2 separate regions of the Homo sapiens genome follow, and region 2 is linked to region 1. Evidence: promoter capture Hi-C in human tissues and cell types (Jung and others, 2019). All regions are on one chromosome and are shown on one strand. Each heading gives the region's core, a stretch centred on a gene start or on the middle of the fragment in contact. The rest is flanking DNA. Distances are from core to core; before and after follow the strand shown. Region 1 holds the start of GRM8 (glutamate metabotropic receptor 8). Region 2 overlaps GRM8 (glutamate metabotropic receptor 8).

Region 1 (6,351 bases), core at 3,323-5,822:
GAATTCAAATGCAGGACTGCCATTATGTTCCTTCCCTTACTCCATGCCCCATGGGGGCAGGAGGCCATGCTGGATCTCAAACTAACCCTGATTTGATAATGAGGACTGGGAGTGAGATGTTCTAGAGTCCTAGGAGACACTGATTCTAGTCTTACTTCCCCCAGTACTCACTGTATAGCACTGGGCAAGTCACTTAACCAGATCTCAGTTTCTTGGTTTCTAAAATGGGGAATGATTTTCCCCCATCTCCCAGTTTGTGAAATCCAACAATATAATGTGTGTCAAAGTACTTTATAAACTGCCAAGTGCTATAAGAATGCACAGGGATACTATTAGTCTAACAATCTGTCCTAGAACTAAAATATGTTACTGGTGTATTGTACTTAGAAGATCTAAGAAAACCACTTTCTCATCACGCTTGGGTCTAGTCAGACCTTAACAACGGTCACAGGTCCAAAAAAAGTCAACCCTGGCAAGCCTATATGGAGAGCACAGAGCTTGAAGGAAAACTGGAAAGGACGCAAGAAGAAGTCAATGGAACTACCATGCCTGACCTGGAAAACTAAAGGTCATGGACACTGAGCATCTAAATCGCTATTCTGAAGAAAGTGGTGACAAGATAATCTCCTGTTGTGAAAACAAGACAACCGGAAACCTTCCTAAGTTGTAGGTACAATATAATGCTTCTACCGCTGGGTCATGACCACTGGAAAAGTCAGCCAATAAATAGCCAGCAGCTTTCTAGCTTTAGGCATAACCCTGCCTGGAAAAGTATGAAATTGGCAACACATGTGTCCAACAATCTATACTCCTCTGAGGGCTCTCCTAGATATTCCTACTTCTGTTCACCTCCTGCCCTGCCCTGCCCTGCGCTGACCTCCCCAGAACTAGGTCTCTTCCTTCCCTCAGTGCCTTTGTTCTTTCATTACCTTGGCCCTCCCCAGGGAGTGAGTGGATTCATTAGCAGGTATCAAAGCCTGAAGATGCATTACTGTCATCCCCAAATGGAACATCTGCATTCTCAAAATGATTCCTAGGAGAGCCATAATTTATTTACCAAAGAAATATCACCATTAATAATGGTTAAGGCTAGCAATGCAACAAGCCAGAGCAGAGAGCTAGGAGTCAGGAGCGTCTCAACAGTACCTCTCAAATCATTCCAACAGCATTGCCCACCACTGAGAAAGGGTGTCCTGGGATGAGACAATATTATGCTCAGCGTCCCTCCCAGTGAGTGGGTGAGTTTGTCGCAATTTGTCAAATTACCAAGTAGAAATGAAAATCAAAGAAAAAAGAGAGAAAGCCCAAATCTAAATTCCAATTCCTAGCAGAAAGAAAACCCTCTCTTGAAATGGAAACAATAAGCCAGCCAACTCTCAGCTCATAGCCTCTCCTGGGAACAACATGAAGTGGCCGTCCCTATTGAATGAACCACATTTGTGAGTCTGGGGATGCCCAGTCAGAGTCTATCAAGAAAACAGCAAGTTTCCTGAACCTCCGCAAGCCAGCCAACTTGACAGACATGGAGATGTGGCCAGGTCTTGGCTGTGGGTCCAGGAAGAGAGAAATTCAAGCAGCATCTTCTTTTAAGACACTGGGACAGAGCAACTCCACTCCCCCCAACTAAAGCAAGGTCATCTTTATGATGGGCATTCTAACTACCTGAGAAAGGTGGTAGGAAGGAAACTTGGAAGGAAAAAAACATGTGTGTAGTGTGCTGTACATCGTGCCCTGAAGACAATGGAACATTCATACACAAAGATTGGCACGCAATTGCCAATGTGAATGTCAGACGGGTTATTTGCTGCATAAATACCAATTAAACAAGCCCCGCAGCAGCTTCAACCTGCTCAGCCAACTTTGAAAAGAGCACATCTCTCCAGACCTCTAACTTTCTCCTGCACTCACTGGAGCTCAGCTCTTCCTTTTCTCTATTCCTTTTGGATGTAGATGTTTTTAGAATTATTCAAGCAGCCATAACTTTCGAACGGTGCATAACAGGGCAGAACTAGCTAGCACAATCCAAACAGAACAAATTGAGCCTAAGGAACAGTATACAGCTGTGTTCTCAGTATCTTCTTCTTTATTCCGGGTCAATTGTCTCCTACAAAGCCTCCCGTCATCTATTTCTCCCCACATCCCTTATTCAAAAGCAAGAATTCTCTATCTTAGACATGGTACAACCTGTAGTTGACTCTAAAATGGAAAAATTGCATTTTAAAAAACCTTGGTTCATTTTCCCTGACGGAGGAAGCTTTTCTTTTCAAAATTATCAAGCCACACGTTTTCAAGAACCAGAGAATGAATTGCACACAGCTGATTCTGCCTCCTACAGAGATCTTTCACGGTATTATTCACAAGCAAGTGACCAAGGTAAACTAAAGTGGTTTCTGTAGCCATTTGCAATTATTGACAAACAATTTCATAACGGAAAGTGGAAATTACAGGCAAGTGCAATAAGCTGTTTATCCACGATCTACCTGCTGGTGGCTCTTTTTCTCTATTTTTCTTTCAAGCAAAATACAAGCTACCATAGGAATGCTTTTCTCCCGTTCATGATTTTTCTTGTATCTCCACCACCAACCCTGTTTTCCAGTTCTGTCAGTTGGCAGGATTTGTATTCAATCGCGGTAGTAGCCCAGACTCTAGTGTATTCTTGGGTGTTCCAGAGACTCCCGCACCTTCAGGTTTGTGGGAAAGGATCCCCCAAATGGCAAATAAGGCACTCCCTCCCGGGGTGGGACTTGCTTAGGGGACTTAAGGGTTTCTGCAACCGGCGAGGGGGTCTGTTTTCACCCCCGCTATCTTGGGTGCGCAGACACTCTCTGACACCAGGCTTCACAGTTTGGGCCACGGGGGAAGTAATTCCCCAGGGAACCGCGGGGGTGCGGTTTTGCGCAACTGGGTGACTCGCGTGTCCCTCCGCATTTCATTTGCACCAAGGGAGCGCGTGTCAGACGAAGGGAATTTTTTTTTCTTTTTTGGTGATTCTGTTATTTTTTCACCAACTGTACGAAGCTCAAGGGATATCCGAGCTTTCTGGCTGGGCGGATGGGCTTCGCGCTTGGCATGGCTGAGCGGTCCATCTCTACCTCTCCGTTTCTATCTCTACCATAACAGCGACCACTCAGCCCGCCAGGAGCCCCTGTTTCCCAGCGCAGGTTCCTTTTTCTTCTCAGTTCCTTGGGCTGTTGAAGCCGGGTTCTGGGTAGATAGAGACTGGGGCCGTGGGGAGAGCGCCAGGCTGCTTTTGCCTTTCCCGCGCCCCGGGGCATTCCGGCGCGCTGGGGATGCAGCCTCCGCCCCCGCCGCACCTGGCCGCCCGAGCGCCCGCGCCCACGCCCCGCGCGGGGCCGCCCGAAACTGGGGCCGCGCCAGCCGCGGGAGCTACCGAGGAGCTGTTGGGGTGCGTTTGCCTTTGCTTTTTAAACAAGATCCCCGAGACCTTTTCTCCATCCCCCCAACCCCCAGCAGGACACGGAACTCCGGCGTTTCTCGAAAGCCACAAAAGAGGGGCACGGAAATCCCAAGCTCGCCGTGCTAACTCGGAGAACGCAAACTCGAGGCAGAGCGTGCGCCGTGCGGGGATGTGGGTGTCGAGGACCCCGAAGCGCCCGGCTTCCCCCGCGACCCCCATCCTCCCTAGATCCTGGTTAGACATCCATCCAGCCCACGCTCAGAGGGCGGGGGTTACCCCGACTCATCCCGGAAGCCGCTAACTTCAGAAATCCCTCCTGTTAGGTTCGCGAAACGAAGGTACCTCGTCATCTCGGCGGGGCAAGTCCGGATTCCACCAGGGCAGGTCCGGGAGGTCACCCAGGGCAGACGATCCGAGGCAGAGCGCTTTAAAATCCTGCCGCCGCACGCCCAGTCAGAGCGCCGAGCGCGCCTGCCCCCTTCCCGTCACCCTTCAGTCTCCCATTCGCCGACTAAACTTTTGGGGGATCACATCTCCAAGCCTTGGGAGTTCCGGGTAAAGTCTCCCTCTTTTCTGAACCTCTTTACTGTAATGTAATCATGGGCAGACAAGAGGGGTGGCTGCCTTGTTCTTTGCAACGTAAAATCAACAGACACCCAATCAAGCTCCAATGCCCGGCCAGCCCCTCGCCCCCTGGTGCCCACTCTCCTTCTCCCCCCATTCCCGTCACCTCCGCCCGCTATTTCTCTCACAGACTACGGACATGCAGGGCCATCTACTTGTGCTCAGGAAAAACAAATCACTAGAGTGATATGAGAAGGAATGGTGCACCTGGCTGTCCGCTGAAAGGTTTTAGAGAAGAAAACGGAAAGGGGAATAAAACGGGGGGATTCTCCTTTTCCAACAAGCAGGGCGTTTTGGGGAAGTTTGGGGGCCAGGGGCTTTTTGTCCCGTGGTTCGGCACTTGCTTTCCTCGGAGCCGCTTTCTGCTGCCGGGCGGCGAGTCTTACCCTGCTCCCCGCAGAGGGCGCGGTGAGGAAGCCCGCCGGGGGCCCGCAGCTCCATGTCAGCGCCGCCGCCGCCGCCGCCGCCGCCGCGTGAGGCGAGCACAGCGGCCGCACTTGTGGCTGATCTCTGGGCTGAGGGGGCTGAGCTGGCCTAGCAGGCGCCAAGTCTCTTCCATGTGAATAACAAATACTCCCACCGGCGGCCGCGATTGGTCTGCGCCCGGCGCCTCCCGATCCTCCGCCCGCGGCCATTCACCCGGCGCGGCGCGGGGAGCCGCGGCCAGGATCGCGCCCGGGATCGCCAATCGCTTCGCGCCAACCAGTCACCTCGGGAAGCGGGAGGAGGAACCCCCGAGGGGCGGGAGCCTCTGGATTTCGGTGTCACCCAGCGGCCCTGGCGCGGGCAGGGAGGGGGACCCTCGGCCCGCGGATCCCCCTCCGCTCTTCAGCCTGAAGCGACGAGGAGACCAGAAATGTCAATAGTTCTGATTTTTAAAAATCATCCCCCCTTCCCCGCCCCCAAGAAAAAGGGGAGGACCCAACTACAGAGTGAGAGGGTGGGAAGAAGCGGGAGCGGTAGAAGAAGGAATATGGTTGTGGAGGAGCCCAGCGGCTCCGGCTGCCTGGCGAGCCCGGGACCGGCGCGGGGAGGCGCGACGCCCGCCCGAGCACAGCGGGCAGCACCCGCGAGCCCGGGTCCCCGGTGAACACAGCTCCAGAAAGCGTCACCGAGAATAACACATGGTAGATGACAAGTGTCCCGCCACATGCTTTCTTTTCGGGAATGCTTAAAGTAGAGCCGGCAAGCCGCGCGGTTCCCTTGCAAAGTTTGCCTGGCGCCGCGCGGCGGTTCCGCCATTTGTCCCGCCCCGCGGCTCTGGCGATTGTCTCCCCACTCCCCGCCCCCGAGGGTCTGAGGGACGCGTGCAACAGAGTCCCCAGGGCTCGAGGTACCACACAGCGCGGTCCGCTGCGGGCACTGCGCAGGAAGGGGCATGGGTGGCTACCGGGACGGTCATTTTATTGAGATGATTCAAGGAGCCGCAGACGCGGGGCAGGAAACTCCGGGGGAGCCGTGCTCGGGTTCTGCAGGGAAACCTCGGGATTCCCTTCGCATGCCGCATGCGGAAACCTGCCGGGCTCGACGTGCACAGTCCAGCGCTCCTCCCCACTAGTTACTGCCCAGGCCCCCCGATCCTGCACCCGCCGGAATGAGAGAAAGTAGCCCCTCGCCGCCCAGCTCCCGGGTAGCTGCTCCGGCCGGGCCTTGCGTTGGTGAGAAAGTTCCATCTAGAGGCGGCCGCGCGCAACTGCAGGCGGCGCCCTAGGCCCGGGCGAGCCAGGGAGAGCGGGGCGCGGGGGGAGAGGGGGCAGCCCAGGAGATAAGGAGGATGGAGAAGGACGGGAGAGACCCCGAAAAGGCAAGCTCTAGACCCCCGTTCGGCATCTCTACAATGAATTTTATCTTCCTAAGCATCATGAACTTATAAGCATTATGTCAGGAATCTTTCATTAATTCCTGTATATATCGCCTGTTCTGTTCGGGTTATTTTAATTTTCACATCAACTCTGTGAGATGGTCAAAATTATTAAGCCCACTCTACAGATGGAGGCAGAAGCCGAGGCTTAGAGACACGGCTGGAAAGTATTACAGCCAGAAATCAGTGTCTGGCTTCAAAACCCCATAGCACTTCCTCCCTGGTGGTGTTGGCTTTTCCCAAGGCTGGTTGTAATGTGCGAAGTTTCGATTGAGGAAACAGCTGTCTCTCTCCTAATTTCAAAAAAGGACCCTTGCCCTTTGTCACTTAGAAAAAATCTACAGGTTTTCAGCCCAGGGCACCTCTTCCCCTTTCGTTCCCTTCCTTCTCCCATCTCATGAGAGGCTCTTTGATTGTTGAATCATTATTTTATAGCTGCAACCACAAA
Region 2 (6,505 bases), core at 1,790-4,289, 560 kb before region 1:
GCCTTCACCCCACTTCACTCTCCAAACCCTCAATAGGAAAAAGTTGGCTGGAAGAGTGAATAACAAACTAATCGCCTCAAACTTCACTAAGATTAACTGGATATGTCACCTCCTCTAAAGATCACAGCAGTCATTCACTGGAATAACAAATGGCAAGACGGGAAACCAAATTGTCAACATGGGTACAAAGAATCTACTAATTTGCTTGAGGTTAGTGGGTAATAGGCAGTGTTATACTAACATTATTATTCCTTTGTGATACATTTCCAACCAAATTTCTTTTATTAGAAATGCTTTTTTCTGATTATGAAAATAATAAATGCTCCTTATGAAAAATCAAAAATATATTTTAAAAATACAAGAAAACAATAATAATTAACAATAAGACTGGCAACCACAGATGATCATTGTAATGAATTAGCATTCTTCTTTCAGTGTTTTGGTGTATATAAGTACAATACATTACAGCATGTAGGTGCTTTGCAGTTTATGTGTATTAGCATGGTCTCATTTTGTTAAATTATTATAAGCAACAATATTAATGCCTGTATTATATTCCAATCTATTGACATTTATATATCCTTTGTTTTCTAACATAAAAAGCTTTTAAAATAGGTACAAATACTTTTTCTAAAAGTTTTACATTACTTCTTAGGGTAAAATTCTTGGAAGTAGTGTTTCTGAACCAAAGAGCAAGAAGAAAATATTTTGCCGAATTATTTTCTAGACAGTTTTCTTTGTTTTATAGTTTGTTTAATCTTTTGCTGGGCATATAAAATAGTAGTCTGATCTCTGTGCCTTCTTATCAATCCAAAATATTTCTTCTCAAAGTATTTTCTATTTCAAAAGATGAAAAATATGTCTCAAGTTATGTTTCATTTATTACATCTAAGTCTTAATCATTTTCATAAATGTATCAGTCAAATGTAGTTTCTTTCATAAATTGTTGGAATATGCCCTTTGTAAATTGCTATTTTAAGATTTTTTAAGATAGGTCATTAGAAATTTGTATGACCATTATAAATATTCAACGTATTAAACGTTTCTCTTATATTTGAGGCAAATATTTCTCCCAACTATGTTTTTCTTATTTATTTATAAGAAAACAAACTAAACTATATATAGTTATATTTATTAACTAAATATAAATAGTTAGGTCTATTTATATTTCCCTATGTGATTCTGACTCAATTCCTCTACATTTAGAAAAATTCCTCCCCCTCTACAGATTAGACATGCACCATCTAAAACATAGTACTTGCTTTTTAATTATTATTGTTAGAATTAAATGAAACTGAAACTTGTTAATGAAATTAGCTAACAAAATTTTCCACTGCTGACCAGATATTATAAAAAACATTGAACCTATCATGTTTAATAGTGCATAGATTTTCCCAAGCTGGATAACTGTGAAATAGAGTGTAACCAATGATTTGAGTGTAACTGTGATTAAACTTTCCAATGTTGGAAGACACTTTTAATGGAAGCTATTATCTATATTTATAGCAGTTTCATTTTTTACTTCAGCTGTTACTTACTCAATTTTTTTCTTCTCTTTTTTGCAATTGATTTGCAAAATATTCCATTAATTGCCTTATAACTGTTATACATATGGAAAATTGTTAGCATGCCTTAAAGTGATCAAGAAAGCTCTTGAGTGTTGAAATATACTAAGTCTTATTTTAGATCTACATTTCTCCTCTGGGTTCTGCTTAGGCAAAACTAGTTACATTTAATGACGCTTTCATGCATTTGCTATTAAATTATATTAGTCTAGGTCAGTCAGAACCTTGAGATACGTTTGTCTCTTGAGGCTCCTTGTCTGGACTAGATGTCCATGCAATTCTTGTTCAGCTCCAAGTCCAGCCAGAGGCATTTAATGTGGCCAACAACAATGGTCTCATGCCTTGATTCTAACATGTATCTGGGGGTCTGAGCTTAAGAATGGAGAAACAGAATGTAAGTGGTCCTGTCAGTTGTTAAACTACTCTTTCCCTGCATCCCCAGTCTTGCCTCATAGATATCCTCGGAATAAAATATCATGATTTTTAAGCATCTCAGTTTGTACTAGGATTGCATTGATGGGTGGCTTTTCCAACAGAGGAGGAATAGAGATGGGAGGGACTGAGATGCCTATATTCGAGAAAAACTATTTCTAGGCAGATAGCCAAATCTTGATCCATCAAAATACTAAATTAGTAATATATTAAAACATTTTTAAAGGGAATTCTGTTATTATTATGAAGAAAATGAGAAAAGAATAATATTCCATACTGATATCTTCTATCATTTGGAAATACCTACTTTCTTCCAAGAACTGTATAATGTACTAGAGACATAAGATTAAAATATATGGTCCCTGTTTCCAAATAGCTCATAGCATGGAGACCAGGCTGACCAGGAAACAGTATCAGCTATGAAACGGAAGTACTGAATTACAAGGAGTAGATGGAATGACTGCCTAGCTGAAACTGTAAACATCAAGAAGAATTCCTGGATAATGTGCCCTATGAATTGAGTTTTACAGGAAGAGAATCTCAGGCAGAAGAAAGCATATTAGAAGGCCCAATGCTGTGAGAAATAACCTATTTACCTCCCTGCAAGTATTTCAGCAAAGGTCTTAATTGGTCAGTGACAATTAAGTAAAATGAAGGGCTTAGGAGGTCCAGATGATTAAGGTTTTTATTCGGCTTGCTAAGGATTTTGGACTTTATGCTAAGCCAATAAAAAGGTATTGAAAGACTTTAAGTAGTCAAGGATGTATGATCAGATTTGCATTTTAGAAAAATTTCTCTGGCCACAATTACGTAAAAAACAGAGAAGGATGGGGCGGGGGACACATTAGCACAAAAGAATAGTTAGAGGACAATTCTTGGCCATTCAGGAAAGAAATGAGGAGGGTCTTAAGTAGAGAGAGTGTTTCTGAAGAAAGATATTAAAGAGCCATAAGAGGCAACATATGATCACTGATTATAAGGTTGGAGAGACAGGGATAAAGAAAAGGGTGAAGGCAACCCAGCTTTCTGGCTTTTACAACCAGGTAAAATGTGATGACGTTCACAGAAGCAGGGAGTAACAGTGTGAAAGAAGGCTTGATTGAAGGTAGAATACAAATAGCTTGAGTTACCTGTGAAATGCACAAGTGGATACACAGGGCTGGGACTAGGGTGAAGTGAGTGATGCATGGAATTGGATGCAAAATTTAAGAAACAAAAACTCTTTGAAAAAATGCATTTTATTTTAAGTCTGGGATACATAAGTAGGATGTGCAGGTTTGTTACACAGGTAAACGTCTGTCATGGTGGTTTGCTGCACCTATCAACCCATCACCTAGGTATTAAGCCCCGCATGTATTAGCTATTTGATATTGATGCTCTCTCTTTCCCTGCCCCCTACTCCTGACAGGCCCCAGTGTGTGTTGTTCCCCTCCCTGTATCCATCTGTTCTCATCGTTCAGCTCCCACTTACAAGTGAGAACATGCGGTCTTTGATTTTCTGTTCCTGTGTTAGTTTGCTGAGGATAATGACGCAGTGGTAACACATGGAAGCCTCCTTTCTTTAAGGAACTATTACTGAGAGAGAGGCAGAAGGTTTAAAGGTTGTGTTTTTATTTATTTATTTTTACTTTTCTCTCATGAAATAAGAAACTGGAACATGTTTATTTGCTGAGGCTAAAAGGAACTGGCAATGGAGAAGGGACGTGGGAAGGAACAAATCAGAGAAGATAGATGCCAAAACAAAGACAGACAGAGGCTGAAGAAAAGGAGGCTCAGATGGGATTATTGTAGACAGTTTACTGAATACAGGCCTTCAAAACTGGGGGGCTTCCACCCAGGAAGTGAAACCATATGACCCAGCAATCCCTCTTCTGGTTATACACCCAAAAGGAAGTGAAATCAGCACCTTGTAGAAATATCCGCACGCCAATGTTCGTTGCAGCACTATTCACAATAGCCAAGATATGAAAGCAACCTAAGTGTCCCTCAAGGGATGAATGGATAAAGAAAATGCATAATATATACAAAAGAGAATACTGTTCAGCCTTTAAAAAAAAAAAGAAAATTCTGCAATTTGTGACAAAATGGACAAACCTGGAAGACATTATGCTAAGTGAAATAAGCCAGGCACAGAAAGACAAATACTGTATGTTCTCACTTATGTGTGGAATTAAAAAAAAAAAAAAAAAGTCAAGCCCATAGAAAAAGATAGTACAACAGTGGTTATCAGGGACAAGGAGGGGATGGGGAATGGAGAAATGCACGTCAATGGGTACAAAGTTGCAGTTACATAAACAACTGAAATAAGTAAGTCTCAAGAGCTAATGTACAGCATGAGGACTACAGCTAATAATTTTGTATTATATACTAGAAACTGGCTAAGACAGCAGATTTTAGGTGCTGTTACCACCAAAAAATAAAAAAGAAGGTAATTACGTGACATGATGGATATGTTAATGTGCTTGACCTTAGTATATTTCACTAAATATATATGTAATATACATTTATCAAAGCATCATGTTGTATGCCTTAAATATACACAATAAAAGAAGGAAAGTAATGCACTTTTATTGCCTGGACAACACATTAACACATCTCCCCATTGTGGGTCATTTTTTTTTCTTTTGAAATGTTTATAACATTTACTCACATCTTTCCATATTTCTGCCCATCCCCAAATTTAAGGAAATTAGTATGCAATACTTATCTGCCTGTAATCCCTTCTCTTTGGGGCATTAATCAGCAGTTACTAATCTGAAGATTTAACAAGGGAAGAACAAAGAAGCATTAAAAACACTATTTGCTGAAAATATAGAAGGGGTGCCTAAGTGTTGCTCACATCTCTTCAACCTTCAGGTGGAAATTATACTCAAGGCTGCAATGGCTGGAACCCCAAGTTCACTGAAATCTGCATCTTGAAGGAATTTTTGCACAAAACAGTTCTTTCATTTCAGAAATAAAATATTTACTAAAAAGTTGAGAAACAATGCAAGCAAATGCAGTAAATATTTGTTCTTCATGGAAGCAAGTTATTCCTTTACATACTCCTATTGTCTCAGTGAAGTTCTGGAGGTTTATACAAATGGAATAGATTGTGGAACTACCCCTGAGAACTACTCTTAAACATGCTACGTATTCAGGATGTCAAATTAAAGGAGTCTCTGAGGCTGCCGCTTCTCTGGTCATCTTTAATTAGACAATACTCTGGTGAAACCCTCACAATTAATATTAAGAGTTGTTCTTCTTCTACAGTAAGTGGAAGGGGAATTATGTAGTGGCTTGTTCTTTGTTATAATTTTATTGAGAGGGTTGTGGAGGAAGGATTGGAATATAATAGAATTGTTCTATTTTCTACCATTTACAGAAAACTAGATGAATCACAAAATTGAAGAAAAAATGATGCTTATCTTTTAAATATGTATTTTATAAATATTTAACTTATATTAAAATTACTTTCCACATATTACAAAATGCTCTAGGCATATCAGTGCATGTGTGCTACTCATTAAATGTTACTATGTCTTTCTACCACAGAGATTTATTTAGGAGGGAGATTGTCATGTTATTTCCTATACCTGGAATGACTCACACTTCTGTGCCTGTTAACATTTTATCCATCTGATACAATCTAGACCGTGAAACCTTTCCTAATCAAGCTATTTTTTCATAAATTTAACAACTGTCATAAATGAATTGTCTGTCATGAATGAATGAAGCAACAAAACAATGAATGACTCAGTGTGGGTTGGTTCTAAGAGTTGCATACCTTCGTAACCCCAATAGAGCTTGTTGGGGTGCCTGGAATATTAACAAGCCAAAAAAATACTTACTTTATTATTAATTATGTAGGCAATGCATAAATTGAAATACATTTATATTTCTCTCAAGAAATTCTCTCTAAATTATATTAGCTTCTGAGGAGAAAGTGTCTTTCTAGCAACCTGGCTTTTAAAACCATCATAGGCACTTTCTCTGTAAAGGTAAATAAACTTTCTTTGGAATGTGGTGAAAGAAGCTGTTAGATAATTTCTGAATGTCTGGTTTTATAATAAGGAGGGTCACTGTCCTCAAAGTTTAGCAATCACTAGACCCTGAGGGACTTTTATCTAATCTTAACCCTGCACCTGACTGCCAGGCAGAGCTAATCACTTAACCTCCCAGTGAATTAATGGGTTCATCTGTAAAACACGATTGCCATCAAAGGCATGAAAGGAAAAGACTAATGATAGACGGAATGAGGTTAGATTTAAAGATTCAACAAAGCCATCAAAATTCACAGCAAAGCCATTTTCCATTATTTCCCTCAATTGTAACTATACTGCTTTTATAAGAAGTGAATTCGACAAAAATAAGTTTATAAGAGTTCTGTTGTGCTAGTTTTTATCTGCTGGACTGATGCAGTATGTAAGAAAATTCTCTTGCTTTCAAAAATGTAAAATTTAAAGCACATTGAAAATTCATGATATTTCATGAGATGCCTAAGGATTTGAGACTCTGACAGACAAAAA

Evidence for each region. Contacts are between HindIII fragments. The study calls those that stand out against the background at their distance.
Region 2: a contact is called between a fragment that was not itself captured here and the fragment with the promoter of GRM8 in region 1, in 1 of the 25 tissues and cell types used here (hippocampus).

Annotation. Positions count from the first base shown.
Region 1 is chr7:127,248,369-127,254,719 of GRCh38, forward strand. It overlaps GRM8 (glutamate metabotropic receptor 8), which reads right to left and starts at 4,573. Exons shown (of 11, transcript NM_000845.3): 1 at 4,429-4,573. RefSeq lists an enhancer at 5,411-5,660 and a silencer at 5,781-5,840. The HindIII fragment of the contact is 12,389 bases long and covers 1-6,351 here.
Region 2 is chr7:126,692,997-126,699,501 of GRCh38, forward strand. The region is part of intron 7 of GRM8 (glutamate metabotropic receptor 8); the gene reads right to left. Among named protein-coding and RNA genes, the nearest start is that of MIR592, 360 kb to the right of the region's middle. RefSeq lists an enhancer at 3,756-3,825. The HindIII fragment of the contact is 9,446 bases long and covers 1-6,505 here.